3 separate regions of the Homo sapiens genome follow, and all the other regions are linked to region 3. The links are contacts of gene promoters, found by promoter capture Hi-C in blood cells and fetal thymus (Javierre and others, 2016). All regions are on one chromosome and are shown on one strand. Each heading gives the region's core, a stretch centred on a gene start or on the middle of the fragment in contact. The rest is flanking DNA. Distances are from core to core; before and after follow the strand shown.

The links. The method cuts DNA at HindIII sites, captures the fragments that hold promoters and counts their contacts. A CHiCAGO score of 5 or more calls a contact.
Region 1: a contact is called between the fragment with the promoter of CCDC71L here and the fragment with the promoter of RINT1 in region 3, in 7 of 17 cell types (total CD8 T cells, non-activated CD4 T cells, naive CD8 T cells and 4 more). The highest score is 10.2, in total CD8 T cells.
Region 2: a contact is called between the fragment with the promoter of PIK3CG here and the fragment with the promoter of RINT1 in region 3, in 1 of 17 cell types (activated CD4 T cells). The highest score is 13.2, in activated CD4 T cells.

The regions. Positions count from the first base shown.
Region 1 is chr7:106,659,423-106,662,610 of GRCh38, forward strand. It overlaps CCDC71L (coiled-coil domain containing 71 like), which reads right to left and starts at 1,736. Exons shown (of 1, transcript NM_175884.6): 1 at 1-1,736. The coding sequence starts at 1,474. The coding sequence ends at 767. RefSeq lists an enhancer at 510-559 and a silencer at 910-1,179. The HindIII fragment of the contact is 5,408 bases long and covers 201-3,188 here.
Region 2 is chr7:106,863,261-106,866,713 of GRCh38, forward strand. It overlaps PIK3CG (phosphatidylinositol-4,5-bisphosphate 3-kinase catalytic subunit gamma), which reads left to right and starts at 2,022. Exons shown (of 11, transcript NM_001282426.2): 1 at 2,022-2,166. RefSeq lists an enhancer at 2,094-2,193. The HindIII fragment of the contact is 4,956 bases long and covers 1-2,485 here.
Region 3 is chr7:105,530,836-105,534,503 of GRCh38, forward strand. It overlaps RINT1 (RAD50 interactor 1), which reads left to right and starts at 1,366. Exons shown (of 15, transcript NM_021930.6): 1 at 1,366-1,522; 2 at 1,989-2,034. The coding sequence starts at 1,481. RefSeq lists enhancers at 647-696, 984-1,561, 1,147-1,446, 1,537-1,716, 1,562-2,138. The HindIII fragment of the contact is 4,822 bases long and covers 1-1,619 here.

The DNA of each region.
Region 1 (3,188 bases), core at 486-2,985, 1.1 Mb after region 3:
AAAGTTTTCATGTGTATTCTACCATTTTTAGGAGCTCAGTAAATATAAACATTGTTTCAATACAAAACCTTTAAAAATACCTTGAAAATGTTTAAACAGTTGTATTTTGCATGTCTTTGTTTGTAATCACTGAGCCCATACAAATCCTTGCACTACTAACAGTCACAAGCTTGAACCTCTTAAAAAATATCCTCGATCAAAGCTTTGGAATCCAGTAAAAATTAGGAAACGAGTGGGCTTCAGAATACCCTGAGCACAAACTAGTGCAACACCACATGTTCGAACTTCTGTCCACAAAGAGGGGTGACAGTGAAATAGAAAAAGGGGGAGATAAAGAACAAGTAAATTCTGGCTTTATTACACAAGCACGAAACCAAATTCCTTTGGAAAAATAATGTCTTCGGAGGACTTCCAGACCAGTGAGGTAGAGTCCAACAGTGAGAAAACGGATCTGCCCCTAAGGTCCTGGAGACGTCTCAATCGGTGGTCAGGAAGAAAGGGACCTCCCCTGCGGGTCCAGCTGTCCCCTCCCTCCGCAGGCCGGGTACGGGAGGCAGCAGAGGGCACACCTGCCCCAGCGTCCAAGACGACCGCGCCGCGGCCCGGGACAGGGACAACCATCCGGCAACTTCTTCGCGCGTAAAGTGCATTGGGGGCCGGGGTCCTGGCCGGATCTGTAAACACTCGACTGACACTTGTTCATTCCTCCGGGCGGAAGGCCTGTCCCAAGGTCGGGGCCGGCAGGAGGCGCCCTGGAGGCCGCACCTCATGCCCGGGGCACCGGGAAGCGGCGGAGCCTCACCATGGGTTCCAGGTTCACTCGCAGGACCTGGCGCGCCCTGCGCCGCGCTGCCGCCAGGCTGCGCTCGCCCCACACGTCGCTGCCGACGCGGATGGTGGGGAAGGTGGTCAGCGTCGGGGTGGCCGCCCTCCAGATCTCCTCCAAGGTGCGGCCCCCGAAGCAGGGCCCGGGGGCCACGGGCTTGGCCGGGCAGCTCTCCTCGGGGGGCGGCGGCGGTGGGGGTGGCGGCCGGGGCTTCCTCCTGCGGGCAGCGGCCGCCCGGGCTCCGCGGCGCCTCCTCCTGGCCGCTGCGCGCGGAACCGGCCGGCGCGCCTGGCCGCGGGCTGTAGGGGGCCCCGGGGGGTCGGGTACCAGGGCCCGGCAGGAGGAGTAGCCGTAGACGTCCTTGCTGCGCAGGATGTGCGGGGAGAACTGGTGCTTGAGGCTGCAGAGGAAGCTCCAGAGCTCCGCGTCCGAGCTCATGAACTCCGTGCTGCGGGGCATGAAGAGCTTGAAGGCGTCGCCCAGCGCCTTGGTGCTGTCAGCCAGCGACAGTTGCGACCGCGAGTACACCACCTTCTCCTCCCGCGCCTCCAACCCAGCCCCGTCTTCTGCCCTAAAGTCGCCGCCCCGGGCGGCCGTGGCCGGGGCGACCGGGCGCCGGCGCCGCCGCCTCTTCATACTGCGCCGCATCGAAGGCCGCTCCGGGCCACTCACGCTCGCCGGGTCCCACTACTGCCGCCGCCGTCCCAGTCCGCGTTGGCTCCGCGGCGGCGGCTGCTGCTGGCGTCTCTCGCTACTTTTCTCGCCTCCGCCGCCGCCCCTCCCCCTCCGAGGGCGGAGGACGCGGGCGAATATCCTGCTGCCCGGTACAAGATGGCGGCCGGCGCCCACCCCTGGGCTTTGTCATTGGACGGCGCCTCGCCCCCCTGGTTTCTCTTTCTTCTCCTCTCTTGCCTCTTTTCGCCGGCTGCCTTTCTTTAAATGTGCCCGCCTCAGGCCCCTCCCACCGCAGCCCCGACTCCACCCATTGGGTGCTCTCAGAAGAGGGGCGGGGACTGATGGGGGAGAGGCCAGTTCCTGGAAGATGGTGCTGGGGTGGGTGATGGCCTTTGAACGTAAGTCAACGGTTGGGTGGATCTAGGAGGGCTGCCACGTCTAGAGTAAGAGGGTGGATGTTGGCTACACCATGGGAAGAGTGACTCTTAGAGTGAGGGGGTGTGCAGTTGTGGATTGAGCTGGGAGCTCTACCAGTGTGGATAACAAAGGGAGATTTCCCTGAAGGATGTTCCTGGTATCATCACAGCTAGGGAATTTGGGTTTAAGTCTAGGGGAAATGGGCCTTTCGCAATTCCCATCCACCCTCTCAAAGGCCTCTTCTGGCATCTTCATTCAAAACTCTTCCCTGTCTTGACCCCAGCCCATCTCAAGAAGCCAGTAGTAATCCAGAATCATTCAGGTAATGTGCGTGGCTGGCAGCTGAGAGATTTTAGTCTCCCTCTGGACACTGGAGCCATCTTCATATTTAAGAGAGACCCTGCTTATCCAGAAAGCAAAACATGTCATACCCTATAAAACTAAATACTCTTTGCTCAAGTTGATCAAAGATCTATTACAATAAAGCCATTCTGTGAAAAGAAAATATAGTTTTAAATACACAGTTCTTTATGGATGCCAATTCGTTTTTCATTTAGTTTTAAAATGTCAAAGCCACCCCTATCATTTAGAAAGGATGCATCATCGCAGACAACAGATAAGGTTTCGTTGAAAAACACAAATTGTTCAAAACACATTACCTTTTGTATTGGGAGGAGAGTAGTGGACATCCTTTAGTCATCTTTTCTGTCCTCTATACCTAACTCAGTTCCTGTCAGGTAGTGGACACTCAATGTGTTTGCCGAATGAATCAATGAAATACCACCGATTATCCCAAATAGAGTCAGAAATGTTGAAACTGCTTAGAACAGGACAATTAGATATTTTATATTGCAATTTTCACAGAACTCCTTTAAATTTCTTAAGGTTAAAAGAAAAAATCTCCTGACACTTAGAACTTTGAGGTGGGCATGTGGATTTTACCCAGGAAACATCTTATTTTGCAGTAGTGAACAAATAAAGTATAGGAGTTTTGTGATTTACATGTAGTTGCTAATGGTTTCCTCAAATATTTGACCTGAAAGAGACCTAGTTCATTCTCCTTATTTAACAGGTGAGGAAATCTGTACCATAGAGGTTCAGTAACACAGCTGGCTGATAGCAGAACTGGGATTCTAAATCCTTCGATTTCTAATCTAGTGATCTTTGTATTTCACTGAAGGTTTTTCAAACTGTGCTGTCCAGACTCTAAGGAATTCAATAGAACATGCTTTATGCATAAGTAGAATGACGAAGGACAGAGCTGTACCCC
Region 2 (3,453 bases), core at 772-3,271, 1.3 Mb after region 3:
GGAAAAATATTATTAAAATGGGATATTAATGAGGACTGAAGGTCTTCTAAATATTCTGGGGATATAAAATATTCTTACTCGTAAAGGATGCCTCTACACGGAGGAAGTATCCACAGAGGAAGGAAATCTTTGCCATTACTTCTTACTGGGAACATTTACTACAGATAGTCAAATTTTAGTGGCTATATTAAGATTTGGGGAAGAGCAGGGTACTTTTAATCTCAAGCCACCAATAAACCTGACATATTTGCCAGTTTAGTCATAAAACAGAAAATCCTTTGCCTAATCAAACTTAGCTTAATAGTTCCTTCAGAAGCAGGCAGGGCCAAGAGGCTGAGTCTCGTGTTTCTGGAATAATGTGGCATGTGTGTGTGTATGTGCAGTGCCAGATTGGGACTTGGCCCCCTGGAAGTGACTGAGCCAGGACAGGGAAGGGATCTATTGAATGGTCTGGGGAACAGGGCTGGCCAAGCTCATGGTCCCTCTGAGGTCAGCCCTCCCACCCTCAAACCTCCTCCCACTCCACCCACCCCCAGGAACCCTCCCACACACTCTGGGTAAAACACAGCTTGGCAAGCTCTCACATCATGGCTTGGTGGCTACAGTGTGTTGATCTTCCCTCAGGACCAACCAAGAAAGCTAGCCTTGGTGCTTCTAAAGCTGCCAGCCTCCTAAGGGAGTATTCCTATATAGGAATATACTTTGAGAAGCTGATAAGACCCCTCTAAATATTTGGGAGGCAGCCTTTGAATTAAATTATTTGCCTGCTGATGTCAACTATTAGAGTGCTATTTAAAAGTTAAAACCCAAGAGGCATATGTAAAAGGAAATAAGTCAAATCAATCATTTATCTCAATATCAGAGTAATTCAGAGGAACTCTTAATTACATACCTCCAAGAGACTTGTGAGGTCAACTCCATTCTATCTGCTGCCCTTGAAGCTCAGCTGGAGTCCCTCAACACCCCGATTGGAGGATGAACTCTAGCATAGGGAATTCTGAGATGGAGGGAGGGGGCGCTGGTTCAGGATGCTTGGAGGTTCTAGAAAGAACTGAGGTCACCTGGAAGATACAACGCTACTCTAAAAATGATTCAGGATGGCTTTTCTATGCATTCTCTACTCCCATAGGAATCAGGGGCCACCTCCCAGGATGGAATCTGCCTGATGCTGTAACAGTGTTCAGCTCCCCAATTTCCCCATGATAACAGGCAACCTCCTTCTGTTTTGTCTACAGTTAATTAATCAGTCATTGCTGACAGTAAGGCTCCATCCTCAACACAGGATATTTTCTGAAGCATTAATTTTTGTTTCAATAGTTGATCCTTGTTTGGAATATAATGTGTTACAATGTAGTGGTACTTAGTATTAAAATCAAAATACCTTTTTATTCATCTTTCAATTTTAATACTTTTAGCATTTCAACCATTATTTGAAGGGTTACTTACTGCAGTATGTCACATTTATATACACACATGCACATGCTGCAGTGCTTTCAGTTTGAGCCAGTGATATTTTAGGCCCCAAATGCTCTGAAAAAATAGAGAAAGCTCTCACCAAGCTAAGGAAGTGAGCTTGCAGACCATGCCTTTAAAAATTTTCAGCTTGATAACTTAGTCCTCAAGATGACTAGGTTTCTCTTCCCCCACCCCTCAGTTAGCATGTGCGAACAAGGATTCTTTTGAATTCCCAGGAGGGGAATGAGTTTAATTTGACTGGTAAAAGTCTTCCTAATAGGATACCTAATACTGTGGCTCTTAGAACTAGCTACAAAGATATTTCATATGTTTATGTCTCATAATGGGTAATTTTGGTTTGGATTTATGTCATTTTGTCTCAGTATCACAATTTTTGAAAAATTAGTTCAAAGAGAAAAAAAAAAGAAAAGAAAAACCATGGTAAACATTGCTCAGTCTCATACTCCTACCCTCTCTATGCTAAAACAGGAAATGCATTTCTGACACTTTTAAAATGAGCAATCACACGTATAATCAACTTGGTTAAAACTTCCTTCCTGGTAACTGCAACACTTCCTCTGCATCTGGATATGAAGGGAGCCCCAGAAAAGCGGAAGAATTTAGACGCACACTGGGTAGGTTTGAATTTGTTTTGTTTTCAAAAATTAAACAAATGATCCTTCAGCATCATCGCCTCCGCTGCTTTATCAGGTATTGCTTCCTTCTATTTTTTGCTCTTTGTGGGGTCTGACTCGGAATAGTGGCACTTCCTTCTCGGCTAGATTATCTGAAACTGTTGTCGGTTCTTGAGATGATACTACCACCGAATGTCTGTGTTTCATTGTCTAGTCCAACCTGTATTGTGGATATCTACAACGTTCCGGCAATAGTTTTGCAGGTGCATCACATTTTTGTTTTTGTTTTGGGAGGAAAAGGGAGGGCACGGCAGCCAGGCTTCATATTCCTACAAGTGCATGCTTCAAGATTACTGTACTTACAGTGTTTCCAACATCTTCTCATAAAAGGGGAAAGCTTCATAGCCTCAACCATGAAGGAAACCAGTGAGTATTAGTCAGCCTGTTTTCCTCTGCATCTTATAAGATCGTTTGGTATCACTGAGGCAGAAGTTATTGCTGTGTATTTATATGCTGCCTAAATTTGGACATGTTTTATTTCAAGTTAGTGTCAATATCAATGTATCTTACAGTTCTCTTCTTTGTTAGTTATTCTATAATGTAGCAAAAGACCAAAATGAATGTTTTAAGCCACAAGAGACAGTTCTTTGGGACAGTTGGTTTCACTTACTAAGTATAACTTCATATTTTAAGAGAGGGAATATTGGTTTTAAAAGTTAAGCCAAGATTTGAACATAAGTTTGGATCAAATGAAATTTGTCTTTCTTATCTTCTTATCAAGCTCTCCTTTTTGGTATACATCAAATGCTCCACTATTTCTTAAGGAAATAATGTAGTTTTAAGTCTAACATTAGTTATTTAAGAGAGTAAACGATATTTTCTGAAACATTAATTTTTTGTTTCAATAATTGATTCGTTTAGAATATAATGTATTACAATGTAGTGATACTAAACATTGAAAGCAAAATACCTAATCTTTCAGTGTTAATACCTTTCAAATTTCAATTATTATTTGAAGGATTTCCTATTGCAGTATGTCCTATTTATACATAAGTGCTTTGTGAAGGGTAGGTACTTACTGAATTTTGTGGAAAGAGTGAGTAGGTTAATGAGAATAAATTTGTGAATTTGTGTTACAAAAATGAAAATATTAGAGCAAAAAAGAAGTTAAATGATTGGGGGTCTTAACAGAAGGTCACTGGAGTCCAGAAATCCTGCCTTCCATCCTGTAGCTCCTCCATTATTAAGTAGAGACAGATCAAATGAATTTTAATTAATTAATTAAACAATGTTAAAATTACCTAAATGTTCCTATTGGGAGAGTACAGCCTTGGGTGACTCTTCTAAGATACTGCCCTAATAT
Region 3 (3,668 bases), core at 116-2,615:
CCGAGGCCGGGAGTTCGAGACCAGCCTGACTAACATGGAGAAACATCGTCTCTACTAAAAATACAAAATTAGACGGGCGTGGTGGTGCATGCCTGTAATCCCAGCTACTTGGGAGGCTGAGGCAGGCGAATCGCTTGAACCTGGGAGGCGGAGGTTGCTGCGAGCAGAGATAACGCCATTGCACCCCAGCCTGAGCAAAAAAAAAACAAACACACATGTACACTATAAATATATACGATTATGTTCCCATAATAGGTAATTTAAAAAATAGTATCCTTGTTTTTTTTTTTTTTTTTAAATGAGACGGAGTCTTGCTCTGTCGTCCAGGCTAGAGTGCAGTGGTGCGGTCTCTGCTCACTGCACGCTCCACCTCCCGGGTTCACGCCATTCTCCTGCCTCAGCCTCCTGAGTAGCTGGGACTACAGGCGCCCACCACCACGCCTGGCTAATTTTTTGTATTTTTAGTAGAGACGGGGTTTCACCATGTTAGCCAGGATGGTCTCGATCTCCTGACCTCGTAATCTGCCTGCCTCGGCCTCCCAAAGTGCTGGGATTACAGGCGTGAGCCACAGCGCCCAGCCATCCTTGTTTTATGCTTGCAATAGTAATTTGTAGCTCGATTATATATCTCTGTGCACATGTATTTGATTTTTCTTCTCACCGTGTGGTTTCTTTTTCCTCTGAGGGTTGCTTTCCCCCCCCCTTGTTTGTTATGGTCTCTATGGTACTCCTTCCGTGTTAGTTTGTTTAAGAGGCTGTCAAGTCCACAGGTCCTCTACACAACCCTTGCTGCTAGGTAGCTCCCTTTCCTCCTCCCTGGTAAAAGACAGGGTTTTGGGCGAAACACATGTTAGATGCTCTGTTCTCTTCATTCAGCTCCCAGAACGCTTATAACCACCTCTACACCCTCTAGGCAGGAAATCAGAAGCTCATCTCTAGGGACTCTGACCAACGTTAAAAGAAATATCTAAAGATACTGACATTCATTGGAAACCCCCAACTAAATATTCGAACCAAATAACCCTGCACCGAAGCTCCTAGTCAACAAGCCCCCCACACTCTCAGAACATCTGGATATTGCCTAAAATATAAATTTAAATTATTCATATTGAATTTAAGGCGTTGGGAGAGGGATATCTTAAAGTTCCATCATTAAGAGCTTCAATAAAGTGGAGGGGACTTTTACCGCGGTGGAGTGAGCGAATCCCTTCTCTGGAGCTCCATAGGGGAGGGTGCCCGCTTCCTGAGTGGCCGTTCCGACCTCCGGTCAGGAGGGGGAGGAACAGAGCACGGCCGGCGGCTGCACGGGCAGGGCCTCTCTGGGCTGAGAGGAAGAAACCAGTGAGACATCGAGAGGAAGTCGCTGTGGCACTCAGTCCTACGGCCTCCGAGGCTGGGTAGTGAGTGTGTCGCTGGCCTTAGCCAGACTCCACAGGCCACGCTGGCTGCGAATGGAGCCGAGGACTCGCGCGGAGGCGAGATGCTACCAGCCGGCGAGATCGGCGCCTCTCCTGCAGCCCCGGTGAGACGGCCCTGGCGTCCCTGGGAGGGGACATTGGTGGCCCATTGAGGTGGCACAGACCTCCCGGGGGAGATAGTCCCGGTGCGGTGGCCCTGTAAGCTTGTGAAGGTGCTTCCTGCGGCTTAGATTAGAGGCCCTTGTAAGACCTCCTAGAGGAGGCGGTAGTCCCCGTGAAGTGGCTTTGGCGGCCCTGGTGAGATGACAGATTTCTCTAGGGAGGTGGCTCTAGTGAGCAGGCAAGGTAACTCCAGGTCCTGCGGAGGTGACACACACCTCCTGGGAAGGTGGCGGTGGCACCAGGACAGTGGCACTTTGAGGTACCTGATTCGGACGGCCCTGGTCGCTCAGAAAGTGGGAGAGCGTCTGGAACCTCTCTTGCCTCCAGTGGGTGCCCTTTGGGAGCCCCGTATGCTTTCCATCCACGACTTTAATCTTAATGTGCTTGTCACATCTGTTCTTCTTCTAGTGCTGCTCTGAAAGTGGTGACGAAAGGAAGAACCTCGAGGAGAAAAGTAAGCCAGCTCCAAACACCTTAGCTTTTTCTTCCCGCCCAAACTCAGCCTTCCAGGGTCTGCAATATAGAAAGGTTCTTTGCCTATCTTTTAGATGCAGTACCGTTTTCTGCACAATATGCTTATATGGTAATACTGATGACCATGATACACATATTTTTGTCTTTCTAAAATTGTAAAATATGGGATGCTTTGGAGAAGAGCACTTCCCGATCCATACCTAGTACAGGGACTAGAGTGTTTTCGCTGGAAGTCTGCCTATCATACAGTACTCAGAATAATTGGGGCCTGCCTGTCATTTTAATGAAACATCAACTTACTAAGCATCAGGAATTTGGAGGGGCCCATGATCTAGGACAGACGACCACCACCCTAATTGGGTTCAAAGGAGGCAAATGACAGTTGTTTAGTTCACCTTCAGTAAATTGGCAATTTAAAATTGCTCTGGCAAGAGCACAACGGATAACTTGGGTTCTGGATCTTGGACTGGACAGGAAAGGGGGAAAAGGTCAGTACCACCATTTCCTCCCTAGTACGGGAGTATATGTCAGGGTTGTGGACTTTTGCCATTTTACTTTGATGGCAGGTTATTGCAAATCAAGGGCTCTTTAGGGACCTTTGAAGTGACATTTTTTGGGAGAGGAAGGGGAAAAGCATGTGATAGCTCTGCTATTGGGATTTTTGGTTCTTTTGACTGTGGCAAACAGTTGGGAATGTGTAGCAGTAAGAAAAACGGTGCCCACATTAGCACATGGCCCTTAGGAGTAAGATTTGCCCTTAACATTAGCGGCTGATAGAATCTGCCTCAGAAAGAAGGCTCTGAGCAGTCCATAGCACATGACTGTCATAACTGCCACATCTCAGCTCCTTTTTCTTGAAGGATTTCAGAGTGCCTTGTATCTCTCAGTTAAACCCTTCCCTTTCCATTTTCCACCTTTGCCTCATTCAGATGCCTGGAAAGTAGTCTGATGCCTACTGAGCTGTCATTTTAATAAAATAATAGATGTAGACTATCATATCAAGGACTTTGACCTTGTTCCTCTTTCCACAGCTCAAACTGCTTTGCAGTTAGGAGTGCTCTTTACAAAAAATAGAAAAGGAGACACATAAAAACCTCCCAAACCACCGGTGTGTCATTTTGAAGAATGTCATTTCACTAAGAATGTACTATGCCACATTTGAATGGTTACACATCAAGGGTGTAATTTTTTTTTTTTTTGAGACTTAGTCTCACTCTGTCTCTCAGGCTGGAGTGCAGTGGCGCGATCTCGCCTTACTGCAAGCTCCGCCTCTGAGTTCAAGTAATTCCCCTGCCTCGGCCTCCTCAGTAGCTGGGATTACTGGTGCCCGCCAAACACCCGGCTAATTTTTGTATTTTTAGTAGAGGCAGGGTTTCACCATTTTGGTTAGGCTGGTCTTGAACTCCTGACCTCAGGCAATCCACCGTCCTCGGCCTTCCAAAGTGCTGGGATTATAGGCATGAGCCACTGTGCTCAGTGGGTGTAATTTTTTTTAAAAAATGAAGGTAGAATTTCCTCCCTAAGATACAGCAACTTTAGCATTCACAAAACATTTCCTGCCTCCATTTATCTGCAGATACACCACACAAATCACTTGTTTTATTTAAGATTTAA